5 separate regions of the Homo sapiens genome follow, and regions 1, 2, 3 and 4 are each linked to region 5. Evidence: promoter capture Hi-C in 16 types of primary human blood cells and fetal thymus (Javierre and others, 2016). All regions are on one chromosome and are shown on one strand. The core of a region is centred on a gene start or on the middle of the fragment in contact, and the rest is flanking DNA. Distances in the headings are between cores, read along the strand shown.

Evidence for each region. The method cuts DNA at HindIII sites, captures the fragments that hold promoters and counts their contacts. A CHiCAGO score of 5 or more calls a contact.
Region 1: a contact is called between a fragment that was not itself captured here and the fragment with the promoter of GLIPR1L2 in region 5, in 1 of 17 cell types (naive CD8 T cells). The highest score is 5.8, in naive CD8 T cells.
Region 2: a fragment that was not itself captured here is called in contact with the fragment with the promoter of GLIPR1L2 in region 5 in 1 of 17 cell types (monocytes); the score reaches 5.2 in monocytes.
Region 3: a contact is called between a fragment that was not itself captured here and the fragment with the promoter of GLIPR1L2 in region 5, in 1 of 17 cell types (monocytes). The highest score is 5.1, in monocytes.
Region 4: a fragment that was not itself captured here is called in contact with the fragment with the promoter of GLIPR1L2 in region 5 in 1 of 17 cell types (naive B cells); the score reaches 5.2 in naive B cells.

What each region holds. Positions count from the first base shown.
Region 1 is chr12:76,009,948-76,015,306 of GRCh38, reverse strand. No RefSeq gene overlaps it. Among named protein-coding and RNA genes, the nearest start is that of PHLDA1-AS1, 18 kb to the left of the region's middle. RefSeq lists a silencer at 4,264-4,558. The HindIII fragment of the contact is 2,095 bases long and covers 1,016-3,110 here.
Region 2 is chr12:76,149,607-76,154,578 of GRCh38, reverse strand. No RefSeq gene overlaps it. Among named protein-coding and RNA genes, the nearest start is that of NAP1L1, 67 kb to the right of the region's middle. The HindIII fragment of the contact is 1,978 bases long and covers 573-2,550 here.
Region 3 is chr12:75,974,509-75,980,096 of GRCh38, reverse strand. No RefSeq gene overlaps it. Among named protein-coding and RNA genes, the nearest start is that of PHLDA1-AS1, 53 kb to the left of the region's middle. RefSeq lists enhancers at 1,846-1,895, 1,905-2,049, 1,926-2,095, 1,424-2,623 and a cis regulatory region at 1,971-1,984. The HindIII fragment of the contact is 3,115 bases long and covers 1,991-5,105 here.
Region 4 is chr12:76,061,579-76,066,699 of GRCh38, reverse strand. The region is part of intron 4 of NAP1L1 (nucleosome assembly protein 1 like 1); the gene reads left to right. Among named protein-coding and RNA genes, the nearest start is that of NAP1L1, 21 kb to the left of the region's middle. The HindIII fragment of the contact is 2,307 bases long and covers 2,312-4,618 here.
Region 5 is chr12:75,388,422-75,393,894 of GRCh38, reverse strand. GLIPR1L2 (GLIPR1 like 2) reads right to left here and starts at 2,806. Exons shown (of 6, transcript NM_001270396.2): 1 at 2,545-2,806. The coding sequence starts at 2,778. It also overlaps a transcript of CAPS2 not described here. RefSeq lists an enhancer at 2,745-2,874 and a silencer at 2,832-3,004. The HindIII fragment of the contact is 6,589 bases long and covers 1,780-5,473 here.

The sequences.
Region 1 (5,359 bases), core at 814-3,313, 620 kb before region 5:
ACCTAGGCTATTCTCAAACTCTTGGGCTCAAGCAATCATCTTCCTTCGGCTATCCAAAGTGCTGGGATTACAGACATAAGACACCCTCACCCTGCTCTATTAATTTCTTTTTCTTTCTTTGTTTTTTTTTGTTTTGTTTTGTTTTTTGTTTTTTTTTTTGAGATGGAGTCTCGCTCTGTTGCCCAGGCTGGAGTGCAATGGCGTGATCTCGGCTCTCTGCAAGCTCCGCCTCCCGGGTTCAAGCAGTTCTCTGCTTCAGCCTCCCGAGTAGCTGGGAATACAGGTGCTTGCCAACATGCCCGGCTAATTTTTTAAATATTTTTAGTAGAGATGGGGTTTTACCATATTGGCCAGGCTGGTCTCGAGCTCCTGACCTCGTGATCCACCTGCCTCGGACTCCCAAAGTGGGGATTACAGGCGTGAGCCACTGCACCCAGCCTGCCCTTTTAATTTCAATCTCTTGGAGCCACATGCAGCAAACATCTTCATCAATTTACAAAAGCATCTGGTTTTACTCTGTGATTTTCCCCTTCCTTCCTATGGGAAAAAGAAGGAAACTATAAGACCTGCTATTTTATAGGATTTTGTTTTGGTTTTGGTTCTTTTGACACACAGTGTGTCTTCAACCCACCTGTATAATGAGAACTCCTTAGAATAATGAAGGGTGCTACATAATCAAAGTACGTGGTTGCTTGCTGAGGTCGGAACATATTCTAACTTGATCTAGAATTATTTTCTACACCATGACCTAAAAGTGAAAATGGATGGTTTTAAAAGACTTAATTTAGGCAGAAAATTTATTTAAGCCAAGTCCTCTATTACCTGCACACTCTAATGAGCAGTGTTTTACTTCAATTATGTAAACGGAGAGAATAACGATTGAGGAAATATAATAAAACTTGAACAATAATAGTTCCCATTTTCTAAGCATTTATTTTATGACAGGTCTTTTATCATAACAGTGCCTCGAGATAGGTATTGTTATCTCCCTTTTACTGATAAGAAAACAGAAGCTTACAGAAGTTGAGAAAGTTCCCAAGAGCAGAGGGCAATTATGCGGCAAAGCTGTGATTTGATACGGATCTGAGATACTCCAGAACCCCTATTCCTTTCAGGGCAGGAGGCTAACTCCCAACCCTTTAATGTAAGCAGGCCTGGGGGAGACCAAGGGCAGCCGGGCTCACCTTTCCTCATGAAAAGAGAGTGGCCGGGGAGAGGGCAGCTGTGATCTTCCAGCGATGAGTTTGGAGCCATAGGCCGGCTCAGGCGGCATCTCTCCCAGACCACCCTGCAAAACAGTCTGTGGGTTTTGAAGGCATCATTTTATTTGTGGAATGATGAGGTTATGAATTGAGGGGAAAAAACAGAAAGACTAGTTTGATTTAGCATTTATTCAAGAAAAACATATGACTTTATAAGGAGCGGGATGGAAGTCATGTCTCCCAACTGCAAACACTGCTGCCTGAGGAATTAATGAGAACATCTCATCATCCCAGAGGCCCCCCACAGTGCTAAGCCTGCACCCAGGGCCTTAGCTGAGGAAAAGCAAGAATCATGGTGAATGGGTAGGCTCAGTGGAGAGCTGTCCAGCTGATGGGATGAGGGCAAGCTCACCACATCTCGGCAGGAGGATGGACACGCAAGCTCTTCACCTAGCTCGCTTTCACCCAGCTCTTTACCCTCTTTACTTTAATTTGATTTTTTTAAATTAAATAATTTATCAAAGCCCCTTCTGGAGCTGTTGTTTCTCCCCTTTTAAAAAGAACTTTCTGGCTGGGTGTGGTGGCTCACACCTGTAATCCCAGCACTTTGGGAGGCCAAGGCAGGAGGATCACTCTCGCTCAAGAGTTTGAGGCCAGCATGGGCAACTCATCGCTATTTAAAACAAAAAACAAAAATAATAAACATTTAAAAATGAGCTTTTTGTTTTGTTTTGTTTTTAGACAAGATCTCACTCGTTGCTCAGGCTGGAGTGGTGCAGTGGCGCAATCATAGCTCACTGCAGCCTCAAACTCCTGGGCTCAAACCATTCTCCTACCTTAGCCTCTCAAGTAGCTGGAACTACCGGAGCAATGCCACCATGCCCAGCTAATGTTTTTAACTTTATGTTTTGTAAAGATGGGGTCTCACTATGTCGCCCAGAGTGGTCTCAAACTCCCGGGCTCAAGTGATCCTCCACCTCAGCCACCCAAAGTGTTGGGATTACATGTGTGAGCCACTGCGCCCTGCCAAAATGAGCATGTGAGGGTCTTTGTGGTGTTGTGGAAGGGCTGCAGCCCCTCCTGTCCTGGCTGTCTCATCTGACTGCTTGCACCCTGTGTGTGCTCTCTGGCTGCAATGATATCACCAGGAGACCCATCAAGTCGGCTTTCTGCAGCTCCTTGGGGATTACTGGGTTCAGGCCTAATCCTCAACGGCCCAGGCCCTAGGCATTTGGACAGGGCTACCACTCAGGCAGGAGAGATGCTGAGGCTCAGCGTGGGAGTGTGGAAGGGGCAGCTGACCATGACCCTTCTCCTCCCAGCTTTGAATCTCATTTTACTTCAGAGACTGCAGAGCCCTGAAGCAGAGCCGCCTCCCTCAGTCTGCAGAATCCAGGTTGCTCTTCAGGTAGGAGATGCACCTTTTTGTCCTAAGGGATTCCTCTTACCCCCTGTTTGAGGGGCTGGGGAATTTTTGAGTGTGTGTAGCGGGTGAGATGGCAGGTGGAGGTGGGGTATGTGTGGAAGACGCTTTCCCAGGAAGACCAGGTTCCTAAGGGATGTAGGAGTTATAGAGGGGGCAAAGATGCAAAAAGCAAGACAGACTTTGCCAGGGAAGCAGACCGGGGAGAGATTTTGAGTAAGATGCAAACTCCAAGTGTTACAAAGACACTAAAAGCAAATTGCCTGGAAGGGTGATGGCAAAGCTCTCACACTTACTTGGTGCTATCCATGCCTTCTAGAGGAGGTGATGGTGTTGCCCAGCAGTGAACATCTTTCTAAGAGCTCTGTTTCAGTACTTCCTCCCCTCCCTTCCTCCACCTTCTCCTTGGTCTGCCTGCAACCTCATCTCTTCCAGGCCCTTGCGTGGGACATCTGGACAATCTGCCTGTTATGTGGATAGAAGCTTTATCTTTGATTCCTGCCCAGGGTCTGTGTCTCCCCCTGCCCACACCACTTCACACTATCAGCCCTTGGTGCACGTCTGACCACCCGGCATGAGGTGCTCATGGGACTTTCCAGAAGGAGGCTTCTCTCATGGAATGCCTGGGGCTCAAGAGCACTAGAACTCCAGGAATGGGGCAGTTCCAATTTCCCTGGTGGCAAGTACAGTTGGAGCATGTGATGGCACATCACCAGCAAAGGAATGAACCTGGAGATGAAAATGGAGTTCAGTGGAGAGTCAGACTCACGGCTAAGAAAACACAGAGGCCTCGTGGGGAGCTCAGTAGGGGTAAGCACAGGAGGCAGGAAGAAGAAAAGATGGAGGCCTCATGGGGAGCTCAGTAGGGGTAAGCACAGGCGGCAGGAAGGGGAAAGGAGCTAACCTAGTCCTCACTGATAGCATAGTAAGAAATCGGAATGTCCCAGATCCCAGCCCCTGACCATGGAAATCACTGTGACTTGGGCAACAGTGACAATAGTATTTGGTTTGATCTCCCCACCCTCTCATTGTCGTCTCCTCATCTCCTTCCCCACAGGGTCTAGGCAGCTCATTGAATACCTGGTGTTAACCCTTAATGGACAAAGCTACTATCAACCATGGCTGCTGCTGTGGCCTCCATCGTAAGTGAGTCTGGCTTTTCCAGTTTACAGTGTCATCCCCTGAGGAACTTAGAAAGGCTTCCCTGGGCCTGGACCAGGTGCCATTTGAGACTCCATCGTGTGTGATATTTATTCACAAGTGTCCATCAGTTTGGATCCCTCTACGGGCCCTGTCCTTGGCTGCCTTTCCCTCAGGGTGGTTCCTGATAACCAATGTGTCTTCTTTCTTTCCTCCTCCTCTGCTCTTCCAGGATAGCAGGACAGCCTTGAGTCTCCTCTTAGCTCAGGAGTGCTAAGTCCAGTCTCCTGGGTGTCTGACTGTCAAGACCAAAGTCCGGTTGCTGCTTCTACTTGGAGGCTTGAAGATTCCTCAGACAGATAGAGAAACCCTAGTAGCCATTTCTCAGGGTTTCCAAAATAAGCGTACAGATTAGTACCCGACAGTGACATGTAATTTAAAAAGCAAGTAGCAAAATAATTCTTTATGAGTCACTTGTAAAGACCAGGCCAGACTTGTGTTTTTAAGCAAAAACAGAGACTCTTTCAATTAGGTTTTAGTAAGCCCCAAGCTATTTTTGAAGTTGAGTGCTGGGAATCCTTTTGAGCACAAAGGCAGAGTCCCTTTGGGCACATTGGACCACCCCTGGAGTCATGAAGTGGATTGGAGAGGCATTCCAAAGACAGGCTGGGAAAAACCTGACAGGAAGTATTCCCAGAACAAGCTACTCCCAAAGTCCCCGTTGGCTAATGACTAGGGCATAATTGTAAACAAAGCAGACCAGCTTCAAAGAATAGAGATGTGTCTCTGAGCATCAGCCACTCAGCAAAGAGGAAAATGCCCTCCTGGCTTTTGGCAACTCACAGCACCCCTTCTGCCAGAGCATTCTGACATTAATCAAGAAACACACATGTGCTATTACCCAGAGCCATGTCTGAACCCACCTCCAGCCTCCCAAGCCCTCTCCTCAGCCCCAGTGCTCTCCATCTCTCAGCCAGATTTTCCCAGGGTGGAAAAGAAGGAGGTGGCAGGGATGTGAGGAAAGGGGATGCAGAGGCCAAGATGGCCAGGGTATTGGGTCTCCTTTGATGTCCAAACAGGTTGGTTTTCCAGTGGGTAAGGTCCTGAGACAACCTTGCTCATTGACCAGTTAATCCTGCTCAGCACAGCCTGGTGTTGCAGAGCAAGGCCTAGGCAAGCTGTGGAATTAGTTCTAGACTCCACATCTCAGCTCTACTGCTTAGTGGACTTAATATTTTATTAAACCTGTTTTCTCGTTTGTAAAATGGTAATGATAATCTTGATCTGTGGATAGGCCTTGTTTTGAAATTATAAATGTATATAAATAAATATATTTAGTGCCTGGCACATAAGTGATAGATACAACTATTATCATTTCTAGTACTTCTGCAAGTATTGTAAGTGGCTTCTGGCTAGTGACTGCTTACCGTATGTTGGGTATTGGGTAAAATACTGCGCATAAACACATTTTATGGTCTCTACTTCTATTATAAAACTATTTTGTTTTAAAAAAAATCCATGATTTTTAGCACAATAGAGTATTGCTTTATATCAATTAAATTAACAAATCTCAAGCCAGGGAAAGGAAGTTTGA
Region 2 (4,972 bases), core at 312-2,811, 760 kb before region 5:
TATAATCACCACACTTTGGTCCAACTGCAACTGCTCTGTGTGGCATCAAGTTCTACAGGTAATCTGAAACTAAAATCATGAAAGAAAAGTAGGATTTGTGTTGTCGAATGGGATTTTTTTTTTTCGACTTGCCTGATTTGCAACTCAATCAGCAGGTAAGGCTAAAATAAAATATACAATCCAGGCCAGGCGTGGTGGTGCATGCCTGCAATCCCAGCACTTTGGGAGGCTGAGGCGGGTGAATCACTTGAGGTCAGGAGTTTGAGACCAGCCTGGCCAATATGGTGAAGACCCGTCTCTACTAAAAATACAAAAATTAACTGGGCGCGGTGGTGAGTGCCTGTAATCCCAGTTACTTAGAAGGCTGAGGCAGGAGAATTGCTGGAACCTGGGAAGTGGAGGTTGCAGTGAGCCAAAATCACACCACTGCCCTCCAGCCTTGGTGACAGAGTGAGACTCAGTCTCAAAAAAAAAAGTGCATATATATATATATATATAAATTTATATATATATTATATATATACACACACACAATGGCGGATGCTTTGTCTATATTTCTAAAATGTTAAGCTTCATACAAACTATGTACTGGTGGTGAATTGCAAAAATGACTATAATTTTTTCCCATCTCTGTAAGCATACCTCTTTAAAATGTGAATTTGAAGCTCCTCCCACCAAGAGGTAGATTCTATTTCACCATACCTTGCGTCTGGGCTTGGCTGTGTGACTTGATTTAGAAAATGAGACTAGCAAATAAGAAGCAAGCAGAGACTTGCACATTATGCCTTGTTCTCTTTTGCTGTGGTTAGAACCCTGAGATCTCCATGTGGAGGAGCCCAAACTGGCATGCTGAAAGATGAAAGGAGAAAGTATGAAGTGTCCCTGCCAGCCAGCTCCTAACCAACAACCTGCCAACGGCCGGACATGTGAGCAAGGCCATCCTAGACCATCCAGCTTCCAGTCAAATCTCCAGCTGACCACAGACAATATAAGCAAGCCCAGCAAAGAACAGGAAAGCAAACCTAGAGAAAAGCTACACAACCAGCCTGCAGAATTATGAGTGAAATAAGTACTTGCTGTTTTAACCAGCTAAATTTGTTATGCAGCAATAGCTAGCTGATATTGCACTCAGTAAATAATTATTAATTCAGATTTCTCAGAATGAGTATGAAAATGAAAAAGTAATTATGTATATTTAGAACAAAGCAAAGAGAAATCTGCTAAATAGAATAGAAACTGGCAGACATAAGGCTGATTTTTCTTCTTGAATTAAAATAAATAAATAAATAAATGAAGCAATAGAGGCCAGGTGCAGTGGCTCATGCCTGTAATCCCAGCACTTTGGGAGGCCAAGGCGGGCACATCACCTGAGGTCGGGAGTTGGAGACCAGCCTGACCAACATGGAGAAACCCCATCTCTAATGAAAATATACAATTAGCCGGGCATGGTGGTGCATGCCTGTAATCCTAGCTACTCGGGAGGCTGAGGCAGGAGAATTGCTTGAACCCGGGAGGCGGAGGTTGAGGTGAGCCAAGACCATGCCATTGCACTCCAGCCTGGGCAACAAGAGGGAAACTCCGTCTAAAAAAAAAAAAAAACCAATAGAAACAAATTTGTAACTCAACTTTTATTTATTTATTTTTTGAGACAGGATCTCACTCTGCAGTGGTGTGAGCATGGCTCACTGCAGCTTCAACCTCCTGGGCTCAAGCAATCCTCCCACCTCAGCCTCCTGAGTAGCTAAGACTACAGGTAAGTGCCACCATGCTCAGCTAATTTTTTAATTTTTGTTGTTGTTGTTTCAGAGACAAGTTTTCACTATGTTGCCCAGGCTGGTCTCTAACTCCTGGACTCAAGCAATCCTCCCACCTCAGCCTCCCAAAGGGCTGGGATTACAGGCATGAGCCACCACACCTGGCCTGTAACTCAACTTTTGATTCACCTGCCACTCTGACCAGTTCTATGAATCTGCTGAGTTCATTCTGGGCCTCATTCAAAATAATACTGACTCCTTGCCGCATTGAAGTGTGGGGAGGACTAATAAACCTTTCTTTCTTGTTCAAAAAGAATCCTGGGATCCTTGAATGAGGTAGGAAAGACAGAGCATTATTGCTGACACAGAAGCACGTCAATGGTTTCTGCATTGATATGTAGCAACAGAGAAGCCTCTTTAGGAAAGGGATGGGCTGGTTCCGCAGCCAGGGATAGAAACTAGAGAAAGCAGTAGGTGGGTACAGGAAGTGCAGGGAGGCATATGAGTATGTGAATTTCAGACATGTTCCTATTTTTAGTGTTGGCTAGGCAGTATCTGTATTTTTGTCTGTTCAAACAGCATACCTTCTCAGGAAGGAGGATAAAAACATCGGTATATATAGGGAAGATAAAAACATAGGTTTAGCATTTGCAGCACAAATTGCAAACTTTTTAAAGATTTAACTTTTCCAGCAGCTTGTCTGCTAATACTTAATAGCCAAAGTATAGAATATAATAGTTTTGCTGAGACTAAAATATTTTACTGATTTGAAAAGACTTTCAAAGTCAGAAAAGCTTATAAAATAAATAAAATCTGTTTGTACATTTTAATAACTCAAGACTATGGTTTTTAGGGAAAAAAATTACTTTTTTCACCCAAAATCAAATTTCAGTGTTAAATGTCCCTCTATACAGTCTGCACCAATAAGTCCCAAACTCTGATTACTAGCGTTCCTAAGGCACTTTTCAAAAATTTCTCTAGCGACCTCAGCCTCACTTATGGATATTCTGACCAAGTGGAACATAGGACTCTATTTTCTTTCTTCCTTTTTTTCTTTTCTTTTTTTTTTTTGAGACAGAGTTTCGCTCTTGTTGCCCAAGCTGGAGTGCAGTGGTGCAATCTCGGCTCACTGCAACCTCCAACCTCCCTCTGCCTCCCAGGTTCAAGCGATTCTCCTGCCTCAGCCTCCTGAGTAGCTGGGATTATAGGTGCCCGCCACCATGCCTGGCTAATTTTTTTTTTTTTAATTTTAATAGAGACAGGGTTTCACCATATTGGTCAGGCTGGTTTCGAACACCTGCCTCGGCCTCCCAAAGTGCTAGGATTACAGGGGTGTGCCACCGCACCCATCCAGGTCTCTATTTTCAAAAAGGTGACTCTGTTGATGAGCCAATTTTGGAAATCATTATCAGTAAAACGCTGTCCATGAACATAATTAATCTGATTGTCTTTTCTGTAGTCATAATAGAGATTCATTTCAAAACATTTCTTTTTTACAACCTTACACAAATGCCTACTCACTGTTAGCAACTGGACTATTTCTGAAACAAATATAGCAGTCTTTGATGAAAAATAAAAATGAGTACCTGTTGCAGAAGGAGTTATTTGGAGCAAGTACCTTTCTGGTGAATACTTGTACCAGACACATTCATTTGAGTGCACACATGTAGGTCAATTCCTAAGTGTAAATCTAACTACTAGGGGTGTCCAATCACCATTAGCATTGAGCTCCCAGCCTCTGACCCCCATCCAGCTCCTCTCCTTAGGAAAGGGGAGGGACTCTAACAGATTGATGAGCTTTGAAGAGGACACTGGCCATGTGGAGCCCCACTCCTTCCTTGCTGCTGCTTCTAGAAAGTTTCTGGCTGAAGCACATGCTCATTGTTCCTCTGTGCTCCCTGTTATTGTCTGGCCAGTGTGCCTCATCGTGCCAATATGTTTCTTGTTGGAATTCGGTATTATAAAACCACTTCCCTGCAGATAGCCACATTTTTCTTTATCAGATTTAGGAACCCTAATGGAGCTACTTCAGCCTCTACAGGAGGTAGGCAAGGGAAGAGTGTGGGTATGGGGCTCTCCTCAAATATACCAACATATCCCTGTGAAATTATTATTATTATTATTTGAGGTGGAGTCTCACTCTGTCACCCAGGCTGGAGTGCAGCAGCACAGTCTCGGCTCATTGCAACCTTGGCCTCCTCGGTTCAAGCAATTCTCCTCCCCAGTAGCTGGGATTACAGGTGCATGCCACCACATCCAGCTAATTTTTTGTATTTCTGGTAGAGACAGGGTTTACCATGTTGGACAGGCAGGCCTCGAACTCCTGACCCCAAAAGATCCGCCCGCCTTGGCCTGCCAAAGTGCTGGGGTTACAGGTGTGAGCCACCACACCTGGCCAAAATCTTTATTATTATTACTTATATTTTAGAGATGAGTAAATTAAGATTCAACAGATTATGTTTCTTTTCCAAGACCGCTCAAGCCATAAGAGATAACCCTGAGTCTTGCATACAGTTCTGCTGACTCTAAATAATATTGATTCATTAATGGTAACAAATATACTAATGTTAGATGTTAACAATGGGGAAGCTGGGTGCAGTATGTATGGGACCTAGCTATCTGTACAATTTTTTGCATTTTTCTGAAAATCTAAAACTGCTCTAAAAATAAAGTTTATTTCTAAAAAGGTTACATGTGCAATAAATGGCATCAGAAAAAGAATACATGTTTCTGGGCACTAAATAATAATATTTATTATTTTAAAAATAACACAACTATAAGTTTGAGTATGTCTCCATTACCTCATTTCCAGTTCTGGCAGAGTGCAAGGGTTACAAAGGCGCTAGAAGCAGACTTTGGTTGGAGTCACAGCTCTGTGACTCGATGCCAGTTACTCAACCTCTCTGAGCCTCAGCTTCTTCACCTGTAAAAAGGGGCCAATACCTGACAAATGCAATGGTTGAATTAATAAAATAATAGGGACTATGATAATAATAGTGTCCAGAATAATAAAAGTGCCTAGAACAGTGCTTGGCACAGACTTATTGCCTCATCCCCATTTGGATTCAATGCATCTGGAGTAGAACCAGGAGTCCACCTTTTAAATGCTCCTCCAGGTGATTTTGATGGTTTAGGTGTTATTAGTGAAGCCCAACCTCACCTGTAGGCATTGCAGTTGACCTGGCTGCCTGGACTATCAGAAGTTGGCTCACTGACTC
Region 3 (5,588 bases), core at 2,299-4,798, 590 kb before region 5:
AGGGCTTCTGCTGCTGTCTTTCTTCCTTTCTCATTTCTTATACATAAGAAAGAAATATCGAAAATTCATAGATGACAGCTGAGATGTCCTCTTGGAAATAAGACTTCATTATGTTTCCCGTCTACTGCCTGCTATGATTACATAAAGAAAAGGTGACCAGAATCACTGTAGCAACAAATAGAATTCAGTTGCTTCTTTTCCTGCCCTCAGCCTCCTAGGGCCTATAGTGTGGTGGCTGAGAGCTCAGATTCTGGAGGTGAACAGCTCTGGGCTTAAATCCTGGCTCCTTTACCTTTTGGCTTGATTTTGGGCAAGTTACACAATCCCCTAAACTCATCATTTCCCATCTGAAGTGGGGATGAAAATAGCACCAATCTAATATGGTTACTATGAAGATTAAAAGGATTAATGTTTGTAAAAAAAAATTAGCAGTGTACCTGGCATATGGTAAATATCAAATTTATGATAGCTGTTTTAAAAATTATTATTATTGCAGAAATATACTAGTTCATTAGTTGCATATACTGATAGAAGTGGGGATGGAACTTCATAAGGGAGTGGAAAGAGAATACTAGCACTCCCTGGTACCACTTGTATGTAAATCACTTAACGGTGTGCAAAGGATCACACTATAGTTCTGTGATGTGAGAGAAGACTGAATCACTTCCATTTCCGTTGGTAAATGCTAAGGGCAACTACAGGGTGCAGGGCAATAAATGCTGCCTCTCTACTTGGAAATGACTAATCTCCTTTCTCTAAAGTAAAGTGATGTTGAAGTGGGTAAGAAGAGAGAAGATGAAGGTAGCCAGAGTGAGAAGTGGGATGGAAGGGACAGGGAAGTTTCTAAGATCAGCCCCAAATCTTCCTTCTTGAGCTGTGACCAGAACACCATCCAATATCCAATGTCTTCTATCAGCCTGAGTTATCAAGCACAGGAGAGAGCTCCGTATTAAACTGTGTGGCATACGAGTGCCTAATTCCCAGTCTTCTAACTAGTAAGGACAAGGTTTCCTTGCCAAGTTTATCCTGAGGGCAAAGGCCTGGGTGATGTTTTTTGAGGGATGGTATATTCTTTTTAAAAAAGGTATTTAGGAAGCTGTACTTTGTAGACCCATGTGAGAAGGGAAATTGCATTTAAAACTCACCTTGGGGTGAAGGGAAATGCCTTTGAACTCTGCAACTCAGTAGGTAGTCACTTATCCCCCTCATCATTGATGGGTGAGCAGACAAGCTGAGAGCAATCGCATCTCAGCGTACAGTCCTGATGCACTTGTATTCAGTAATGTAGGCAGTTTGAGGTTTGCCCTTCTGTCCTCGCTAGGTGTTTGCTTTCTACTCTGTACATGTTTTAGGATGAACTATAGTTATCTTCCAAATTAGCATTTTAAAGGCATTCTGATTTTGTTTAAAACAAATCACAACGTGAAGTATTGGACTATGGCTGTAGATAATTCTTCAGATTGTGTTAGTACTCCTGGACCAGTTATTGTGAACTCATGGCCTTTTCAAAATGCAGTCGTTGGCTTTCATCTTCTTAAATGTGACTCTATCAAATCCATTCCAACTCTCATACTGGCATTAGTTTGGCCTACTTCCTCTAACGCAAGCCAAGCAAATTCTCCAAATACCAAATATAAGATGGAGATTCAAAGGTCATTGTTTTCTTCCATGCCATTCCACTCCACTCCCACCCCCAGCCAGCAGGGTAAGGGTTCAGATTCCTGCTTAAAACAACAGGTCAGTGGGCACTGCCAAATCATCCTCAATGCCGTTTCAACTGCTAAGTTTTCTGTATCACAAAACCAATGTTTATCCTGTATTTGCAACCCCTGAGCTGCGTTCTCTTGCCCTGATTCTCTTGCTCTTCCCTGCCAGTGAATTTGCATCATTTCTGTGTGTGCTTTGTTTGACTGCCCTGACTCCAGTTCTGCTGAGACTGTCTGTGGGTGGTTTCCCTGTGCAGAGATGACAAGTGCAAAGGTCAGAAGCTTCCATGATTCATTTCCTCTTTGCTGCACGCAGTGGATGGTTTTCTGGGTGAGTCACTCAGATGCCAAACACAGGAGGGATTTTCTTCACATAGAGGCCCTGAGGCTCTGCTATGCCCTGAATTGGAGGAGGAACTGAGTTCTTAATATTTCCTGAAAAATTGTGTATTTTTTCCAATGATTTCATAAGCCCATTTGTATTCCCTTTCTTTGCATCTGATGACTCTGATTTGCGAATGCTGCGTACCCCTTGGAGAACATTTTGGTATCTTGTAGAGCTTCACTGAGTTCTGACTCAAGAGTAATTGGACTCTTTGAAATATACCCCAAAAGCCTGGATGCAGTAGCTCACACCTATAATCCCAGCGTTTTGGGAGGCCAGGCGGGAGGATTGCTTGAGGCCAGGAGTTTGAGACCAGCCTGGGCAACATAGTAAGACCCTGTCTCTCTCTAAAAAAAAAAAAAAAAAAATTACGTGTGTGTGTGTGTGTGTGTATTATGTTTGTGTGTATATATCTCAAGCATATTCCTGTATTAAAACATTCCCTGGTATGTTATCTATACAGGAGTATTAACAGCAGTCTACCTGTGGCTCTTCAAAAATCCACCCTCCTAGCCAGGCACAGCGGCTCATGCCTGTAATCCCAGCACTTTGTGAAGCCGAGGTGGGCAGATCACTTGAGGTTAGGAGTTCAAGACTAGCGTGGCCAGAGTGGTGAAACCCCATCTCTACTAGAAATACAAAAATTAGCCAGGCGTGGTGGCGGGCACTTGTAATCCCAGCTATTCGGGAGGCTGAGGCAGAGAATCTCTTGAATCCAGGAGGCAGAGATTGCAGTGAGTCGACATCGTGCCACTGGCCTCCAGCCTTGGGTGACAGAGTGAGACTCTGTCTTAAAAAAAAAAAAAAAAATACTACCCTCCTCTTCTTCTTCCAGAATAAAAATCTATGGGAGGAACAAGAACATCAACTGAGGATGATGGTAATGTTGCAATACCTAGGGCTGAAACCTACAGCAAAGTATTATTTTCTCAATGAAGAGAGGTTATTATTTTCTTTTTTTTAAACCTTTAAAAATTATGAAATAGAATATGCAAACAGAAGGCATAAGTGTATAGTACAATGAATAATTACAAAGTGAATACCCTCCATCAAGAAATGGAACATGGCCAGCCCAGACGTCCCTCCTTTGTTTACCTTCTAGACGTACCTCCCTTCTCCTGTCTTGAGGTATCCACTACCCTGATTTTTGTGGTAGTCATTTCCTTGCTTTTCTTACCACCTATGTATGCAAGGTTGTTATTTTGTAAAGCAGTATCAATTCCATCTTCTGCCGGTGGCACTATGTAATTCACTTGTATTAAGTAGCGACCACAGGATGACTTTGGGCTAGAGTGGTATATATCTATTCTCTCCCCACCCTAAAATTCCATAAAAATGCTTATCCATGTCTACTGTGTCATGAACTAATAATACTCCTGCTAAGACACATGTTTAAAGTAATGACAGTGAAGAGGTAAAATAAGCACGAAATTTTCAGTGGTCTGTCTCCTGTGCTCTGGGGTTCCTGAGCTGCAAATAGAGTTAAATGATCTGTGATGGGAATATAGAAATCCTCCCCGCCAACCCCCTGCCACCTCTTACTATCCCCTCTCTCTGATTTCCCTGGGAAATATCCCAGCAAGTTGTAAAATCTGCAGAACTTGGGCATGAAAAGGATCTATTTACAGGTCCTGAACTTTCCCCTTTTGGTTTCTTACTTTGAGAACATACAGGCTGTTTCAGCATATTTCTTTATCAGGGCAACTCACCCCAAAGATTATTTGATCTTCTTTAGTCTGACATGTTCTCTGCTGAGCTAGGAAAAGCAGCTGAGTGGAAATGGGACTTAAAATGTAATTCTTAACCATTTTTACTTCCTCGCCTTCCTTCTCTTCCTTGATTGGCTCAGGCAGGTTTGTAGAGGCAGAAAAGGAAATTAACGTTTATTACACCCCTATTTTGTGCCAGGCACTTTTGAGTCCATTATCTTATTAAATACAACACCAGGAGATACTTATTTTTTTTTGTTGGCTCCATTTTGTAATGGAGGCCACTGCATTTCAGAGCACTTAAGTAACTAAACATCATTATGTAGTTAGAAATGGCCATAATGAGGAACTAAACGGTCTAACTCCAAAGCCAAGTTCTCTTTCTTCTCTATCAAGCTGTCTCTTATTTCACTTGCCTGATGACCTTGGAGTGCCCTTGGCAACCACTTTTTAAAGGAGGGTCTATTTTTGTTAGGCAGAATGAAAAGTTATTGGGTTTATTAGCAGTAATGGGTTCAAGGTCTCAGAGTTTTCTTTTTTTTTTTTTGAGACAGGGTCTTGTTGTGTCACCCAGGTTGGAGTGCAGTAGCGCAATCACTGCTTACTATAGCTCCAACCTCTCGGCTCAAGTGATCCTCCTGCTTCAGCCTCCTGAGTAACTGGGATCACGCCCAGCTAATGTTTTTATAATTTTTAGTGGTGACGAGGTCTTGCTATGTGCCCAAGCTGGCCTGAAGCAATTGTCCCACCTCAGTCTCCCAAAATGCTGAGATTACAGGTATGAACCACCATGCTGGCCTCAGTTTTCTTCTTAAGAGCACTGGCTTAGGGCTGGGTGTGGGGTGTGGTGGCTCACACCTTTAATCCCAATGCTTTGGGAGGCCGAGGCAGGTGGATCATTTGAGGTCAGGAGTTCAAGTCCAGCCTGGCCAACATGGTGAAACCCTGTCTCTACTAAAAATACAAAAATCAGCTGGGCCTGGTGTTGCACACCTGTAATCCCAGCTACTCGGGTGGTTGAGACAGTAGAATCACTTGAACCTGGAAGGTGGAGGTTGCAGTGAGCCAAGATCATGCCACTGCACTTCAGCTTGGGCAACAGGGGGAAAAAAAAGCACTGGCTTAGGCTTCGGAGCCACCAGGATGAAAGGCTTCAGGTTATGGTAGTTTCATAAGGGATGGAGGAGGACCGTCAATCTTTGAAGCTCATGTTTGATCCAAGGCCACTTTCTGTGTTTCCTTACATCACAGGTCTGGCTGCCTCTGTGATCTGGTGCCCATAGTCTGTAGGAGACATTATAAGCTTACTGTAAGAAAGCCTAATTAGAAAACAAAGACAGCATGGAGGGGATTACCCTGGAAACATTCCTTGTGCTATAATGCTATTCACTGTGGAGTACAATTTGGTGAAATGCCCACCCCTCTTGCACCTTATCCAGGGAATGTTACTAAAGCAGCACAAGTACTTTGTTTTGTGTTGGTCTTTTGTGTAAGGCAGCTCTCCAGTGTGGTTCCTGTAGCCAGTGTTTCCCCAGAAGAGAGCATGTTAAATGCTTACGGGAAACAGTTTGGTCAGTTGAGGAGCAGGTGTCGGGAAAACAAATGAGGCAGGAATTTAATTTTGGAGTATGTCTGGAGGTGGTATTTACAGAGCACATGGAAGTTATTTTTGGAGGTGCTTATGAATTGTTTAAGTCCATGTCCTTAACTTTAGGAGGAAGTAACATCTGTGTCACACTAAATGTGGAACCTGAATGAGGCTCATAGCCTGTGGCAGAGGCCAGGACC
Region 4 (5,121 bases), core at 2,216-4,715, 670 kb before region 5:
AAGAAGATAGATTCATCTTCATGTCTGCCAACAATTGGCACCATCCAGCTTCATAGTGTTTTTGTTTTTATTTTTAAATCAGTCTAAGAGGTGTGGACTCATTTTGTCTTATTTGTATTTTATGATTTCTAATGAGTTTTTAGCTTTTCTACATAATGCTTGAACCTTTTTCGTTGCCCATTGGTACCCTTTTTCCACTTTCTTGTTGGGATTGCAACTTTTTTTTAATGCTTTGCAAAAGTCTTTGTATTCCAAATGTTATTCCCTTGTCAGTTTTTAGACATTCTAAATAATGTGTCATTTCTACAAATTTATCCATGGAGTCCTCTGGTAAACAGTTAAGTTTTATTTTAGTAAAATATTTTGCCCTAGGGCTTGTACTTTTGAAACTTTTTAAGAAGTCCCTCCTGGTTTCTGCTACATTTCGTATTGAATAGTTTCACCTTTTACATTTAGGTCTTAAATCCCTTTAGAGTCTACCTTTGTATTAGTTGTACGTAGGCTTCCAGTTCCTTTTTTTTCTGCCTCATTTTTTGAGCCAGGTTTGTTTGTTTGTTTGTTTATTTATTTATTTATTTATTTATTTATTTATTTATTTATTTTGGGTCCTCCTCCAGTGACATGAGCTAGTTTTTTTTTTTTTTTTAAACACTATTCACTAATCAATCCATTGTTCCCCCATTTAGGTGTACCACCTACCTTCATTGCATATCAAGTTGTAAACACCCGTGTTTGTCTTTGAGCAGCACTCTTATGTTTTATTGGTCTTTGTCTCTTGTCATTGTCATACTTAATTACTATGACTTTATAGTTGTCTTAATATTTGGCAGGGCAGGTTGCATCCTTTCATACTTCTCCCCCAATCATCCACATTTTTGACAGTTAAGTTTACCAGGGTTGTCAACAAGCAAAAAAACCTTAAAACGTTGATAGGAATTATATTGCATTTGTAGATTTACAGAATTATATCTTTTAATATTGTCTCATCCACATACTTCTAATTATTCAGGTCACATTCTGTGTCTTTAGTTTCAAAGTTATCCTCATAGAGTCTATTGGTTAAGTTAATTTCTGTATATTTTGTGTGGCTGTTGTGAATAGCATCTTTTTTGTATTTTCTGTTTGGCTGTTCTTGATTTACAGAGGATTGCTGTTTTTTTTTTTTTTAAGTTGCTCTTGTATCCAGTAACTTTGCTAAATTTATTGTAGTAATGTGTTCTGTTTTGCCCCCCAGTCACAAGATTTTATCTGCAAATAATGGCAGTTTTAGCTCTGTTCTTCCACATTACATTATACCACATACTTTTCTTTACAACATTACCAGGACTTTCACTACTGTGTTAAACATTAGTATTCTTTGTCTTATTTCTATTCATACTGGGAATGAATATAAAATCTCCATTAAATTCAGTGCCTATTTACTGTTTTTTAATCTGACCTTTGGTTTTTTTTTTTAACTGTATCAATTAAGATGCTCTATTGAACTTTTCCCTTCAGTATATTAAGTAAATAGTAAATACATGTTTTGGAAATACTTATTTTGGATATCAAACTAGCCTTGCATTCCTGTAGTAAATTGAATCATGATGTGTTATTGTTACATTGTTGAGTAATTGAATTTTACAGTTCTTACTTGTTAGTGAAATGAGCTTGTGTTGTGTGCATGCATGTATGTATGTGCATAAAGAAAGTTTCAGGAAGTGGTAATATTTAACTGGTTTTTGGAGTCAAGATTTCAATTGCCTAAGGAATGGAGCAGCTTTTAAAATTTTTCGTTTCCTGAAACAACTTGCATAAGATAGCAATTAGCAGTTCTTAGGGTAGAACTCTTCTAAAAATTTACTTTGGGACTTTGGAGTTGGGGAAGTAGAGGTCCAGGGGAGTTTTGGAGAATTTTTTTTTTTTTAAACATACTAATTTATTCAAGTTCTCTCATCAGTTTTGGAGTTTCATATTTTAAACATGTACATATTTAGGTTTAAAATTGATTAGTACATAGTTTACAATAGTTTTAAAAATCTGGTTTTCATATTCTGTATTTTGCATCTTAATTCTGCTGGTTGTCTTGATCTTATTAAGTTTTTAGAATATTAATTTTGCTTTTGGTTTTCCTTTTCCATACTGTCTTTTGTTACTGCTGCTGTTATCTCTTTTTTAGGATTGCTCTATGTTATTCTTTCCAGTTTTTTAAATTGAATGCTTAATTCATTTGATTTTTATTTTTTAATTTGTGTTTTTTATGGCCTTAATACTCTTACTTTTGTAAATGTTGAGTGTGAAGATCTGTATGCTGAAATTAATAGCTCAAGCTTATTGTATTGTTCAGCTTCTCTTTATTTCTGCTTATTGGTTGTCTGTTTGACCTGACAGTTTTTTCTGTCATTTGTAGATTGAAATATTTTGGAGCCATATTAGGTGTATGATATTTGTGATGAACATTTCTTGTTCTCTTGTTTCATTTTACTGATATGTGTCTTCCTTTGTGTTTTATAATGTTTTTTGGGGGGGTCATAATTTTTATTTGTCTGATATTACAATAATAACCCCCAGCTTTTATGACAAGGCCTTACTCTGTGATCCACTCTGGAGTACAGTGGCACACTCATGGCTCACTGTGATCCTCCCACCTCAGCCTCCCAAGTAGCTGGGAGCCACAGGTACATATCATCATGCCTGGCTGTTATTTTTGTAGAGATGGGGGTCTCCCTATGTTGCCCAGACTGGTCTCGAACTGTTGGGCCCACCTTGGTCTTCCAAAGCGCTGGGAATACAGGCATAAGCCATCACCCCCAGCCTCTTTTTTTTTTTTTTTTTTTTTAAACTTTTAACCTAGTATGTCTTTTTTTTCCATCTTTTCATCTGTGTGTCTTCCTCTAGTATCAGTGTTTGCTGCTTTTATTTTTTGGATACAGTGTCTCGCTTTGTCATCCAGGCTGGAGTGCCATGGCACAATGACGGCTCACTGCAGCCTCATCCTTCGGCTCAAGTGATTCTCCTGCCTCAGCCTCCCAAGTAGCTGGGACTATAGGCATGCACAACCATGCCTGGCTAATTTTTGTATTTTTGTAGAGATGGGGTTTTGCCATGTTGCCTGGGCTAGTCTCGAACTCCCGAGTTAAAGTGATTCACCTGCCTGGGCTCCCCAGAGTGCTGGGATTACAGGCATGAGCCACCACACTCGGCCTCAATGTTTGCTTCTTTATTATTAGTTGCATTTCTTAGAAGTTGTATTGTTTTTGGATTTATTGCTGCCATCTTTCTCTATTTTTTAATTTATTTTACTTTGGGTCTTTCTTCCTTCTTTTCTGCTTCCCATTGGATAGATCAAGTCGCCTTCTGGTTCCAAAGTTAATGGCATTGATTTTTGTTACTATGGTAGTGGCTTATAACCTAATATCTAAGTTTATTTACCCCTGTTGATTTCTTAAATTTACCAATATTTATATTGTTCATAAATGTGCTTTCTCTGGCCCTCTATTTTTCCCTTCAAGGAAAGAAATTTACCAAGATATTTGACCACACCCATACCTTAAATAGAATCTGCTGGATTTTTAAAAAATTTTCCTCAAAAGTTGCTTTTAGTAATATATAGTGAGTATCTGTGGCAAACCTGAAGCCTGGTATACCTGATATAATTTTTGTCCTGCTTTTATATCTGAATAATAGTTTGGTTATGAAATAGTAAATTCAGAGTTCTTAAAAACTACAATTTATTTTTTTCTTTATTTCAGTGTTTCTTTTAATGCCTGTTGTTAGTCTGATTCCTTTTTCTTTGTAGGTTATTCTTTCTCACTGGACACCTTTAGAATTTTCTTTTGTCTGTGATATTCATAAATCTCATTAACATGTCTAGGAAGCAGAGTAAGGATTTTTATATTGCTTTAATGCTGAGAAATGTATCATTCTCATATGTGAAGAGATCGTACCCCTTCTCTGTCAGCTATTGCTACTTTTGTCGTCCATATCTCAGAGCTTTTCTATTTTCCATCTGTCTTTCATGCTGCCTTCTGGTAGAACTTTTCAACATCATGGACTTTATCTTCAGTCGAATCTATCCTGTTTCTCTTATTTGTTGCCTATTTTAGTTATTGTATTTTTCATACTTAACATTCCCAGTCTGTTGTAGATTTCTTGGTCTTGTTGCATGTCAATCTTCCTCATCTCTAAGTATATTTACATTCTTGTTTAAATTCTCTAATTATGCTGCTTCAGATGATAATCATTTCATTCACTCTTTCATAGAAATTGTACCCTTGAAGTTTCTAGTTATTCTCTGAGCTCCAGCACATTAGGCAATACCAGTTACCCTAATAATGAATATTTGGGGAGAAATGAAGGTCTGTGACAAGGAGAAGGGCGCAGGGTGAGCCTAAGTAGTAGAGCACTAGTTGCCTTACACTGAAAGTTTGCTGCCAGTCCAGGCAATTTTTATGGTGTGCTTTGTAGGGTGGGGGACTAGTCTCCTTTGGTTGTCAATTCATCATTCCTAGATTGGATCAAATACATGTTTGAAGGCTTTGAACCGTGCAGCTTTCATCAACCCTCGCATTGGGCTCTTGTGAAGGGTGAAGATGACAGACAACGATTGTTGCAAGGCAGGAGCAGAACTTAAAAAGCTTTCTTGCGGAACTGCTATCTTCCAGTTTGTCCGCACTGCTACCTGCTGTGGCCATTCCCTCCCTAAGTTGTTGGTTACCCTGTACAGTTAAACACAACCTCCAGTCTTACCTGAAATTGCTTATGGTGTGTGTGTGCCTCAGTAGTTACTTCATTCTTGTTCTAAAGTTTCTGGGATTAGCTTTTTGGGGGAGCAAGAAAAGCCAGAAGCCCATGCCAGTTCACCACCTTGGCAGAATAGTGCTTTTCACTTAAAATTAACAGAAATAGAAAGTTGATATCTTCAAGTGTTTGTTTTTTATTTCTAATAATCTTAAGTAAACTGGTGGCTAAGTAAGTGAATTATTTGATTTACAAAAGTTTGTGGCAGGAAAGTTTAACCTGGATTTTGTATCTGTTGCACAGATTCCCTGAAGTTATTTAAATTTTAAGTGTGAACATTTATTGTTAGAGAGGTTTAATCATTCTTTAGGAGACTCATAACCTAGTGTGTATAACCTTTTA
Region 5 (5,473 bases), core at 1,557-4,056:
TCAAGGATGTGGAGAAATTGAACCCTTGAACATTCTTGGTGGGAATGTAAAATGGTGCAGCCACTATGGAAAACAGAATGGGGGTTCTTTGAAAAATTAAACAGAATTATCATATGATACAGCAATTCCAGTTCTGGGTATATACCCAAAAACAGCAAAATCAGGAACTGGAGCAGATAAATGTACACCCATGTCTATAGCAGTATTATTCACAACAGCCAAATAATGGAAGCAATCTAAATATCCACTGACCAATGAATGGATAAACAAAATGTGGTATATGCATACAGTAGAATATTATTCAGCTGTAAAAAGACAGGTAATTCTGACACATGCTACAACATGGGTGAACTTTATAGACATTATACCAAATGAAATAAGCTAGTAACAAAGACAAATATTATATGATTCCACTTATATTTGGTACCTTAAGAAGTCAAATTAATAGGAATAGAAAGTAGAATGGTGATAGAGGCCTGGGAGGAGGGGAGATGGAGAGTAAAGTAATTATTTGATGGGTATGGAGTCTCAGTTCAGGAAGACGAAAAAATTTTGGAGATAGGTGGTGGTAATGGGTGCACAACAATGCAAATGTACTTAATGCCACTGAACTATACACTTAAAAATGGTTAAAATGGTAAATGTTATGTCCTGTATATTGTAATACAATTTTTTAAAAACAACAATTTTTTTGGTATTTAAAAGCAAGGTAGAACAAAAGTACTACACGGCAATAGCATGAATAAGGATGGAAAGTATTCAGAATTTGTGTTCTAAGATCTTATTAATATTTGGGTGGAGTTTACAGGTATTAACTTTTGGAATTTATAAAAAGTACATACATTAAAATACTAAAAATAACCAATAAAAGAGTTTAAATAAGCTGAGTGATGTCCAAATCTGCTAAAGAAACATTTTAAATAGGCCATACTATTATGATAGACTATACTATTTACAGTTAATATTTATGTCCTAATAAAATACATGGGAAAAATATACATTAACTTCAAGAAAGAAGAAAAAGGTAAAAATTTAGGGTGGGACTTTAACCTATATATCAAATACTATTCCTTTAAAAATGTCTATATTTAAAAATATCGATTGTGGGTATACAGGTATATTATTTTATATACCTTATGTTTGAAATACTATATAATTTTTAGAGATGAGATAGAAAACCTATGAAAAGTTGTATTAGAAAGTATTATGTGTTTATTAATTTTCAGGAGTAAGGATAATCTTCAAATTGGGAAGAAACAGAATTAGTCACAAAAAATGGGAAATTAGTTGAAACTCCCAAATATCCCCAAACTCTATAATTGAATTCAAAAGAAAAAGAATTGGCTTAGAAAAAAGTATCTTCAGCAGATAGAACCAAATGCTAGCATAGTTCTATAAGACAGCATATAATCTGACATGGAAATGCTGACAATATAAAAGGTAAAGGAAATGACGAAGAAAGAACTCAAGTATGTCCTATCAAAATAGTATTTTAAAATCAACATTAAAACAAATGACCATTTTTGTAATTTATTCATTTAGCAAGTAATTGAACATGTCCAAATCAGTGAGGATGTGGTGAAAACAGAACAGCTGGTATTTGCTAAATTTGGCACTACCCTTTAGCATAGCAATTGCTATGTGTTAAATTAATAAAAAATATCATACCCTTAATTTATTTATCCCATTTCTGAAATTTGTGCTAAGAACTAATGCTGAAGGAAGAAAAGACATGTCTAGGAAAGTAGTCCTTGCAATATAATTTATAAGTTTGAAGCTTCTAATTCCCTAAGAGGACAGTTATTTATTTGCCGGATTTTCAGTCATTTTAATGACAGTCAGGAAAACTCAATAGCAACCAGGGAATAGTTGAGTTGTTAAATGACTATAGGGTGTAAAAGAGGGGGAAAGCAAGAACCGCATTGTAAGGTAAGGCAAAATCAGGGTCAAGACTAGGGTGAGGAAACTGAGACACTTCCTTAGGAGCCAAATTTGGAATGGGCACAAAAAAAAAAAATCAAGATAACAAACATTTTTAAAAGGCAAAGCTAATGTGACATCGATGATGGAAAAAGCTAAAAATAAAAATTTCAAATACAAACAGAATCTCATCTTGATTTGCACCACCCTGAGAGTGTCGCACTTGTTTTTCCCTAATCCAGACCCAAGGAACCTGTCTTTGTTAAATTTTTTAACATTTTCTTTACCCTTGATATTGATATTTTTGCACTGATTTTTAATTTTTAAAAACCCGTTGCATTAAAATATCATTTTCTTGAATTGGCGCCCCCTTAAAATCTGCACTTCAGGCCAGTGCCTCCATCACCTTAGTCCTGGCCCTGTGTAATATCATGGTAATAAGCATGTGTTAGAGTGTCCGCAGTTTTTCTCTGTGTAAACTTCACGTGTACTTTAAAAACCAAGCTAAAAGTGCGGTTCTCCGCGATCCTTCAGCCTCAGAGCAGTGGCCCCAACTACCCGAGATCCAGGGAGGCGTTGTGGCAACGGTAGTGGAAGGGTCGGCAAACCGCCTTCCGGCCTCACCATGAAGCGCAAGTTAGACCCTCGGGGAATGACGTCGCCCCGCAGCTCATTGTGGAGGTTCACGTACTCGTTGATAAAGTCTACGTCCTCCTCGTCTGGCAAAAATCTGGCGTTCAAACTAGAACCCAGTAGCAGTAGCCACAGCTCACAGAGCCGCAGCTTCAAAACGCCCCCTACTGCCAGGGGTAGGGACTGGGCCCTCCACTCCCGGGCGAAGGGCCTTGCGGCCTCCATGGTCCACCGGCCGCTGACAGGCCAGTGCGCACGCGCTGGCCGTCCCAGTGACCTGCCAATCTACGGAGGACGCAAGCAAGCCTTGTCCCGCCTCCCGGAAGGAGAAAGGGAGGAGGGAGGAGGGAAAAACAAAGGAGGGAGGAGGGGGTAAGGAGGAGGGAGGAGAGAAGAGGGAGGGGAGAGTGGGTAGGGGAGGGGGAGAGGAGGGGAAAGCTAGACCTGCAGAGTGAAGAAAGCTGGTAATAGATGTCTGACAAACTAAAGAAAGACTTGTGTTACGTGAGTAAGCCCTTTTCACTAAACTAATGTAGTGAAATGTTATCCCGAATTGATTTCTGACACTGAATGATATGTCGTTATTAATGAGTCATCAGTTTGTATGGTAAATGCCAATTGCTGAGTAACAGGTCTGAGGAACCTTCTAATTGTGCCAGGTGAAATGATTTTTCTGCGATACAGATACAAATTCAATTAAATTTTTTTTCCCCATTACCTGTTGAGTTGGAAATTTGGTGCAGGGCCTGCCTTTTATTTTCCTCAGGGACAGAATGGAATACAGAAATATTGCTAGTTCTTAAGGCCAAAGAAGTTCTTAAGGCCAACTTAATTGATGAGATTTTTTTCAGTTTTTAAATGAACCTTTGTGGGAAACCACAAAATAAATGGGAGTGAAGGGAGAGTAGGGATCACCAAACTCTTCAAAGGTTAAAACATTTCTACTTCTTCTCTCATCAGCACAATTCAGACAGCCCGGAATATCAAGATTCATCTTTTTCACTAATTGTGGCATTCACAGTAAGAACGAACTCTTTTGTTTTCTTTTTTTGTTCCAGACAAAATTGGCTAATATCTAGCTGATTTTGGTCTGATCTGTTTACCTCCAAACATTTTCCTCAAAAACAAAACAAAACAAAACCAACTTGCTTTGAAGACTTTAAATTCTAAGCATGGAAAAAAAGCAAGTATTAGTTTTGGAATACACGTTTGCATATTACATATTGTGCTTAATAGCATTAAGCAGATATGGAAAATTGACATTGGGAGAGAATTTTACTACAAAACATTGTAACAGGTTAGCCAAACATTTATAAAAAGAAAAGTGCTTTTAAAAATTGTCTGTGATGCACACAATTGAAAAACAATAGACCTATGTAAGATGGTTTCATTTATGCCCTTGAATACTTACTACTATGACTGCATAGTAGTAAGTTTTAAGTGATTGAGAAAGATCAGTAGACAAGACACAGATCCAGCTTTCAAGCAGCTTACAATTTAGTGAATTAGCAATCAGGCAGTATTTAAAACGTGATAAATACAAAGCCAAAATTCTATTGCTTGGTACTCTTGTGGAGGAGCAGGGAAGCCTTTCTGGAAATTGTATACAGAAAGTGAAACAGACAAGTCTAAGATAGCATTCTAAACAAAGGGAAAAGCATGTAATGTGCCTAAGGAGAGGAAGATCCTAAACGCTAGAAGTATTTTAGTATGGCTAGAACCTATTTAAGGGTGAAGGTGGCAAGTGCTGAAAGATGCAATTCTTTTATTATGGTGGTACTGTTGTTAGACTGCAAAAAATGCTAAAGAAAAAGTATAAATAGAATAATGCAATCTTAGATTTGGAAGAAATTTTAGCCACTATTGCTAGCCTCCTGTGTTAGGTATACTCTCCGGAACATCACTGACAGGTGATCATCACATCCTTTTCTTAAATAATTAGACCAACAGGGAAGCCCATTCCACTGCTAGACATCTCATTCAATAAATATTTCCTTGGTACTTCCTGTGTGTCACAGCCCAGCTAAAGGCTCAAATGCTGAACAAGCTAGACATGGAGTCTATCCACAGGGAGCTTTTAATTAAAGGTGACACAGATGAATCATCAAACAGTTACAATACAGAGTGGTGAATACTATTTTTAATCTATTTCACAAATATTTAATGTGTCAGGCACTATTTAAAATGCTTGGACAATATCAACTCACTCAAGTCACACAAATCTTAAGAAATAGTTATTATCCCTTTAACAGATGGAAAAACAACTGAGAAAAAGAGAAATCAAATTGCCTGAGGCCACCCAGCCAGGGAGTGGTAGAGCTACTTCTGTGTTTTTTTTGTTTTGTTTTGTTTTTTTTACCAATTCCTTTTCTAAAAATAGACTCTTTTTTAATAGCAGTTTTAGGTTCACAACAAAACTGAGAGGAAGGTACAGAGATTTCTCATGTAACTCCTGTCCCCACACATACATAAACTCCCTCATTATCAACATCCCACAACAGAGTAGTACATTTACAACTGATGAACCTACATTTATCCATTATTCCCACCCAGAGTTCATAGTGTATATTAGGGCTCATTCTTGGTGTTGCACATTTCATGGGTTGGTATAAATGTATAATGACATGTTTCCAGCATTTAGTACCATATAGAGTCGTTTTGCTGCCTAAAAATCCCTGGTGCTCAGACTATTCATCTCTCCCTGCCTCCTAACCCCGGCAACTACTAATTTTTTTTTACTGTCTTCATAGTTTTGCTTTTTCCAGAATGTCATATAGTTGGAGTCATACAGTATGTAGTCTTTTCAGATTGGCTTCTTTCACTTAGTAATATGTGTGTAAATTTCTTCCATGTCTTTTCGTGGCTTGATACCTAATTTCTTTTTAGCACTGAATAATTTTTCATTTTCTGGATGTACCAA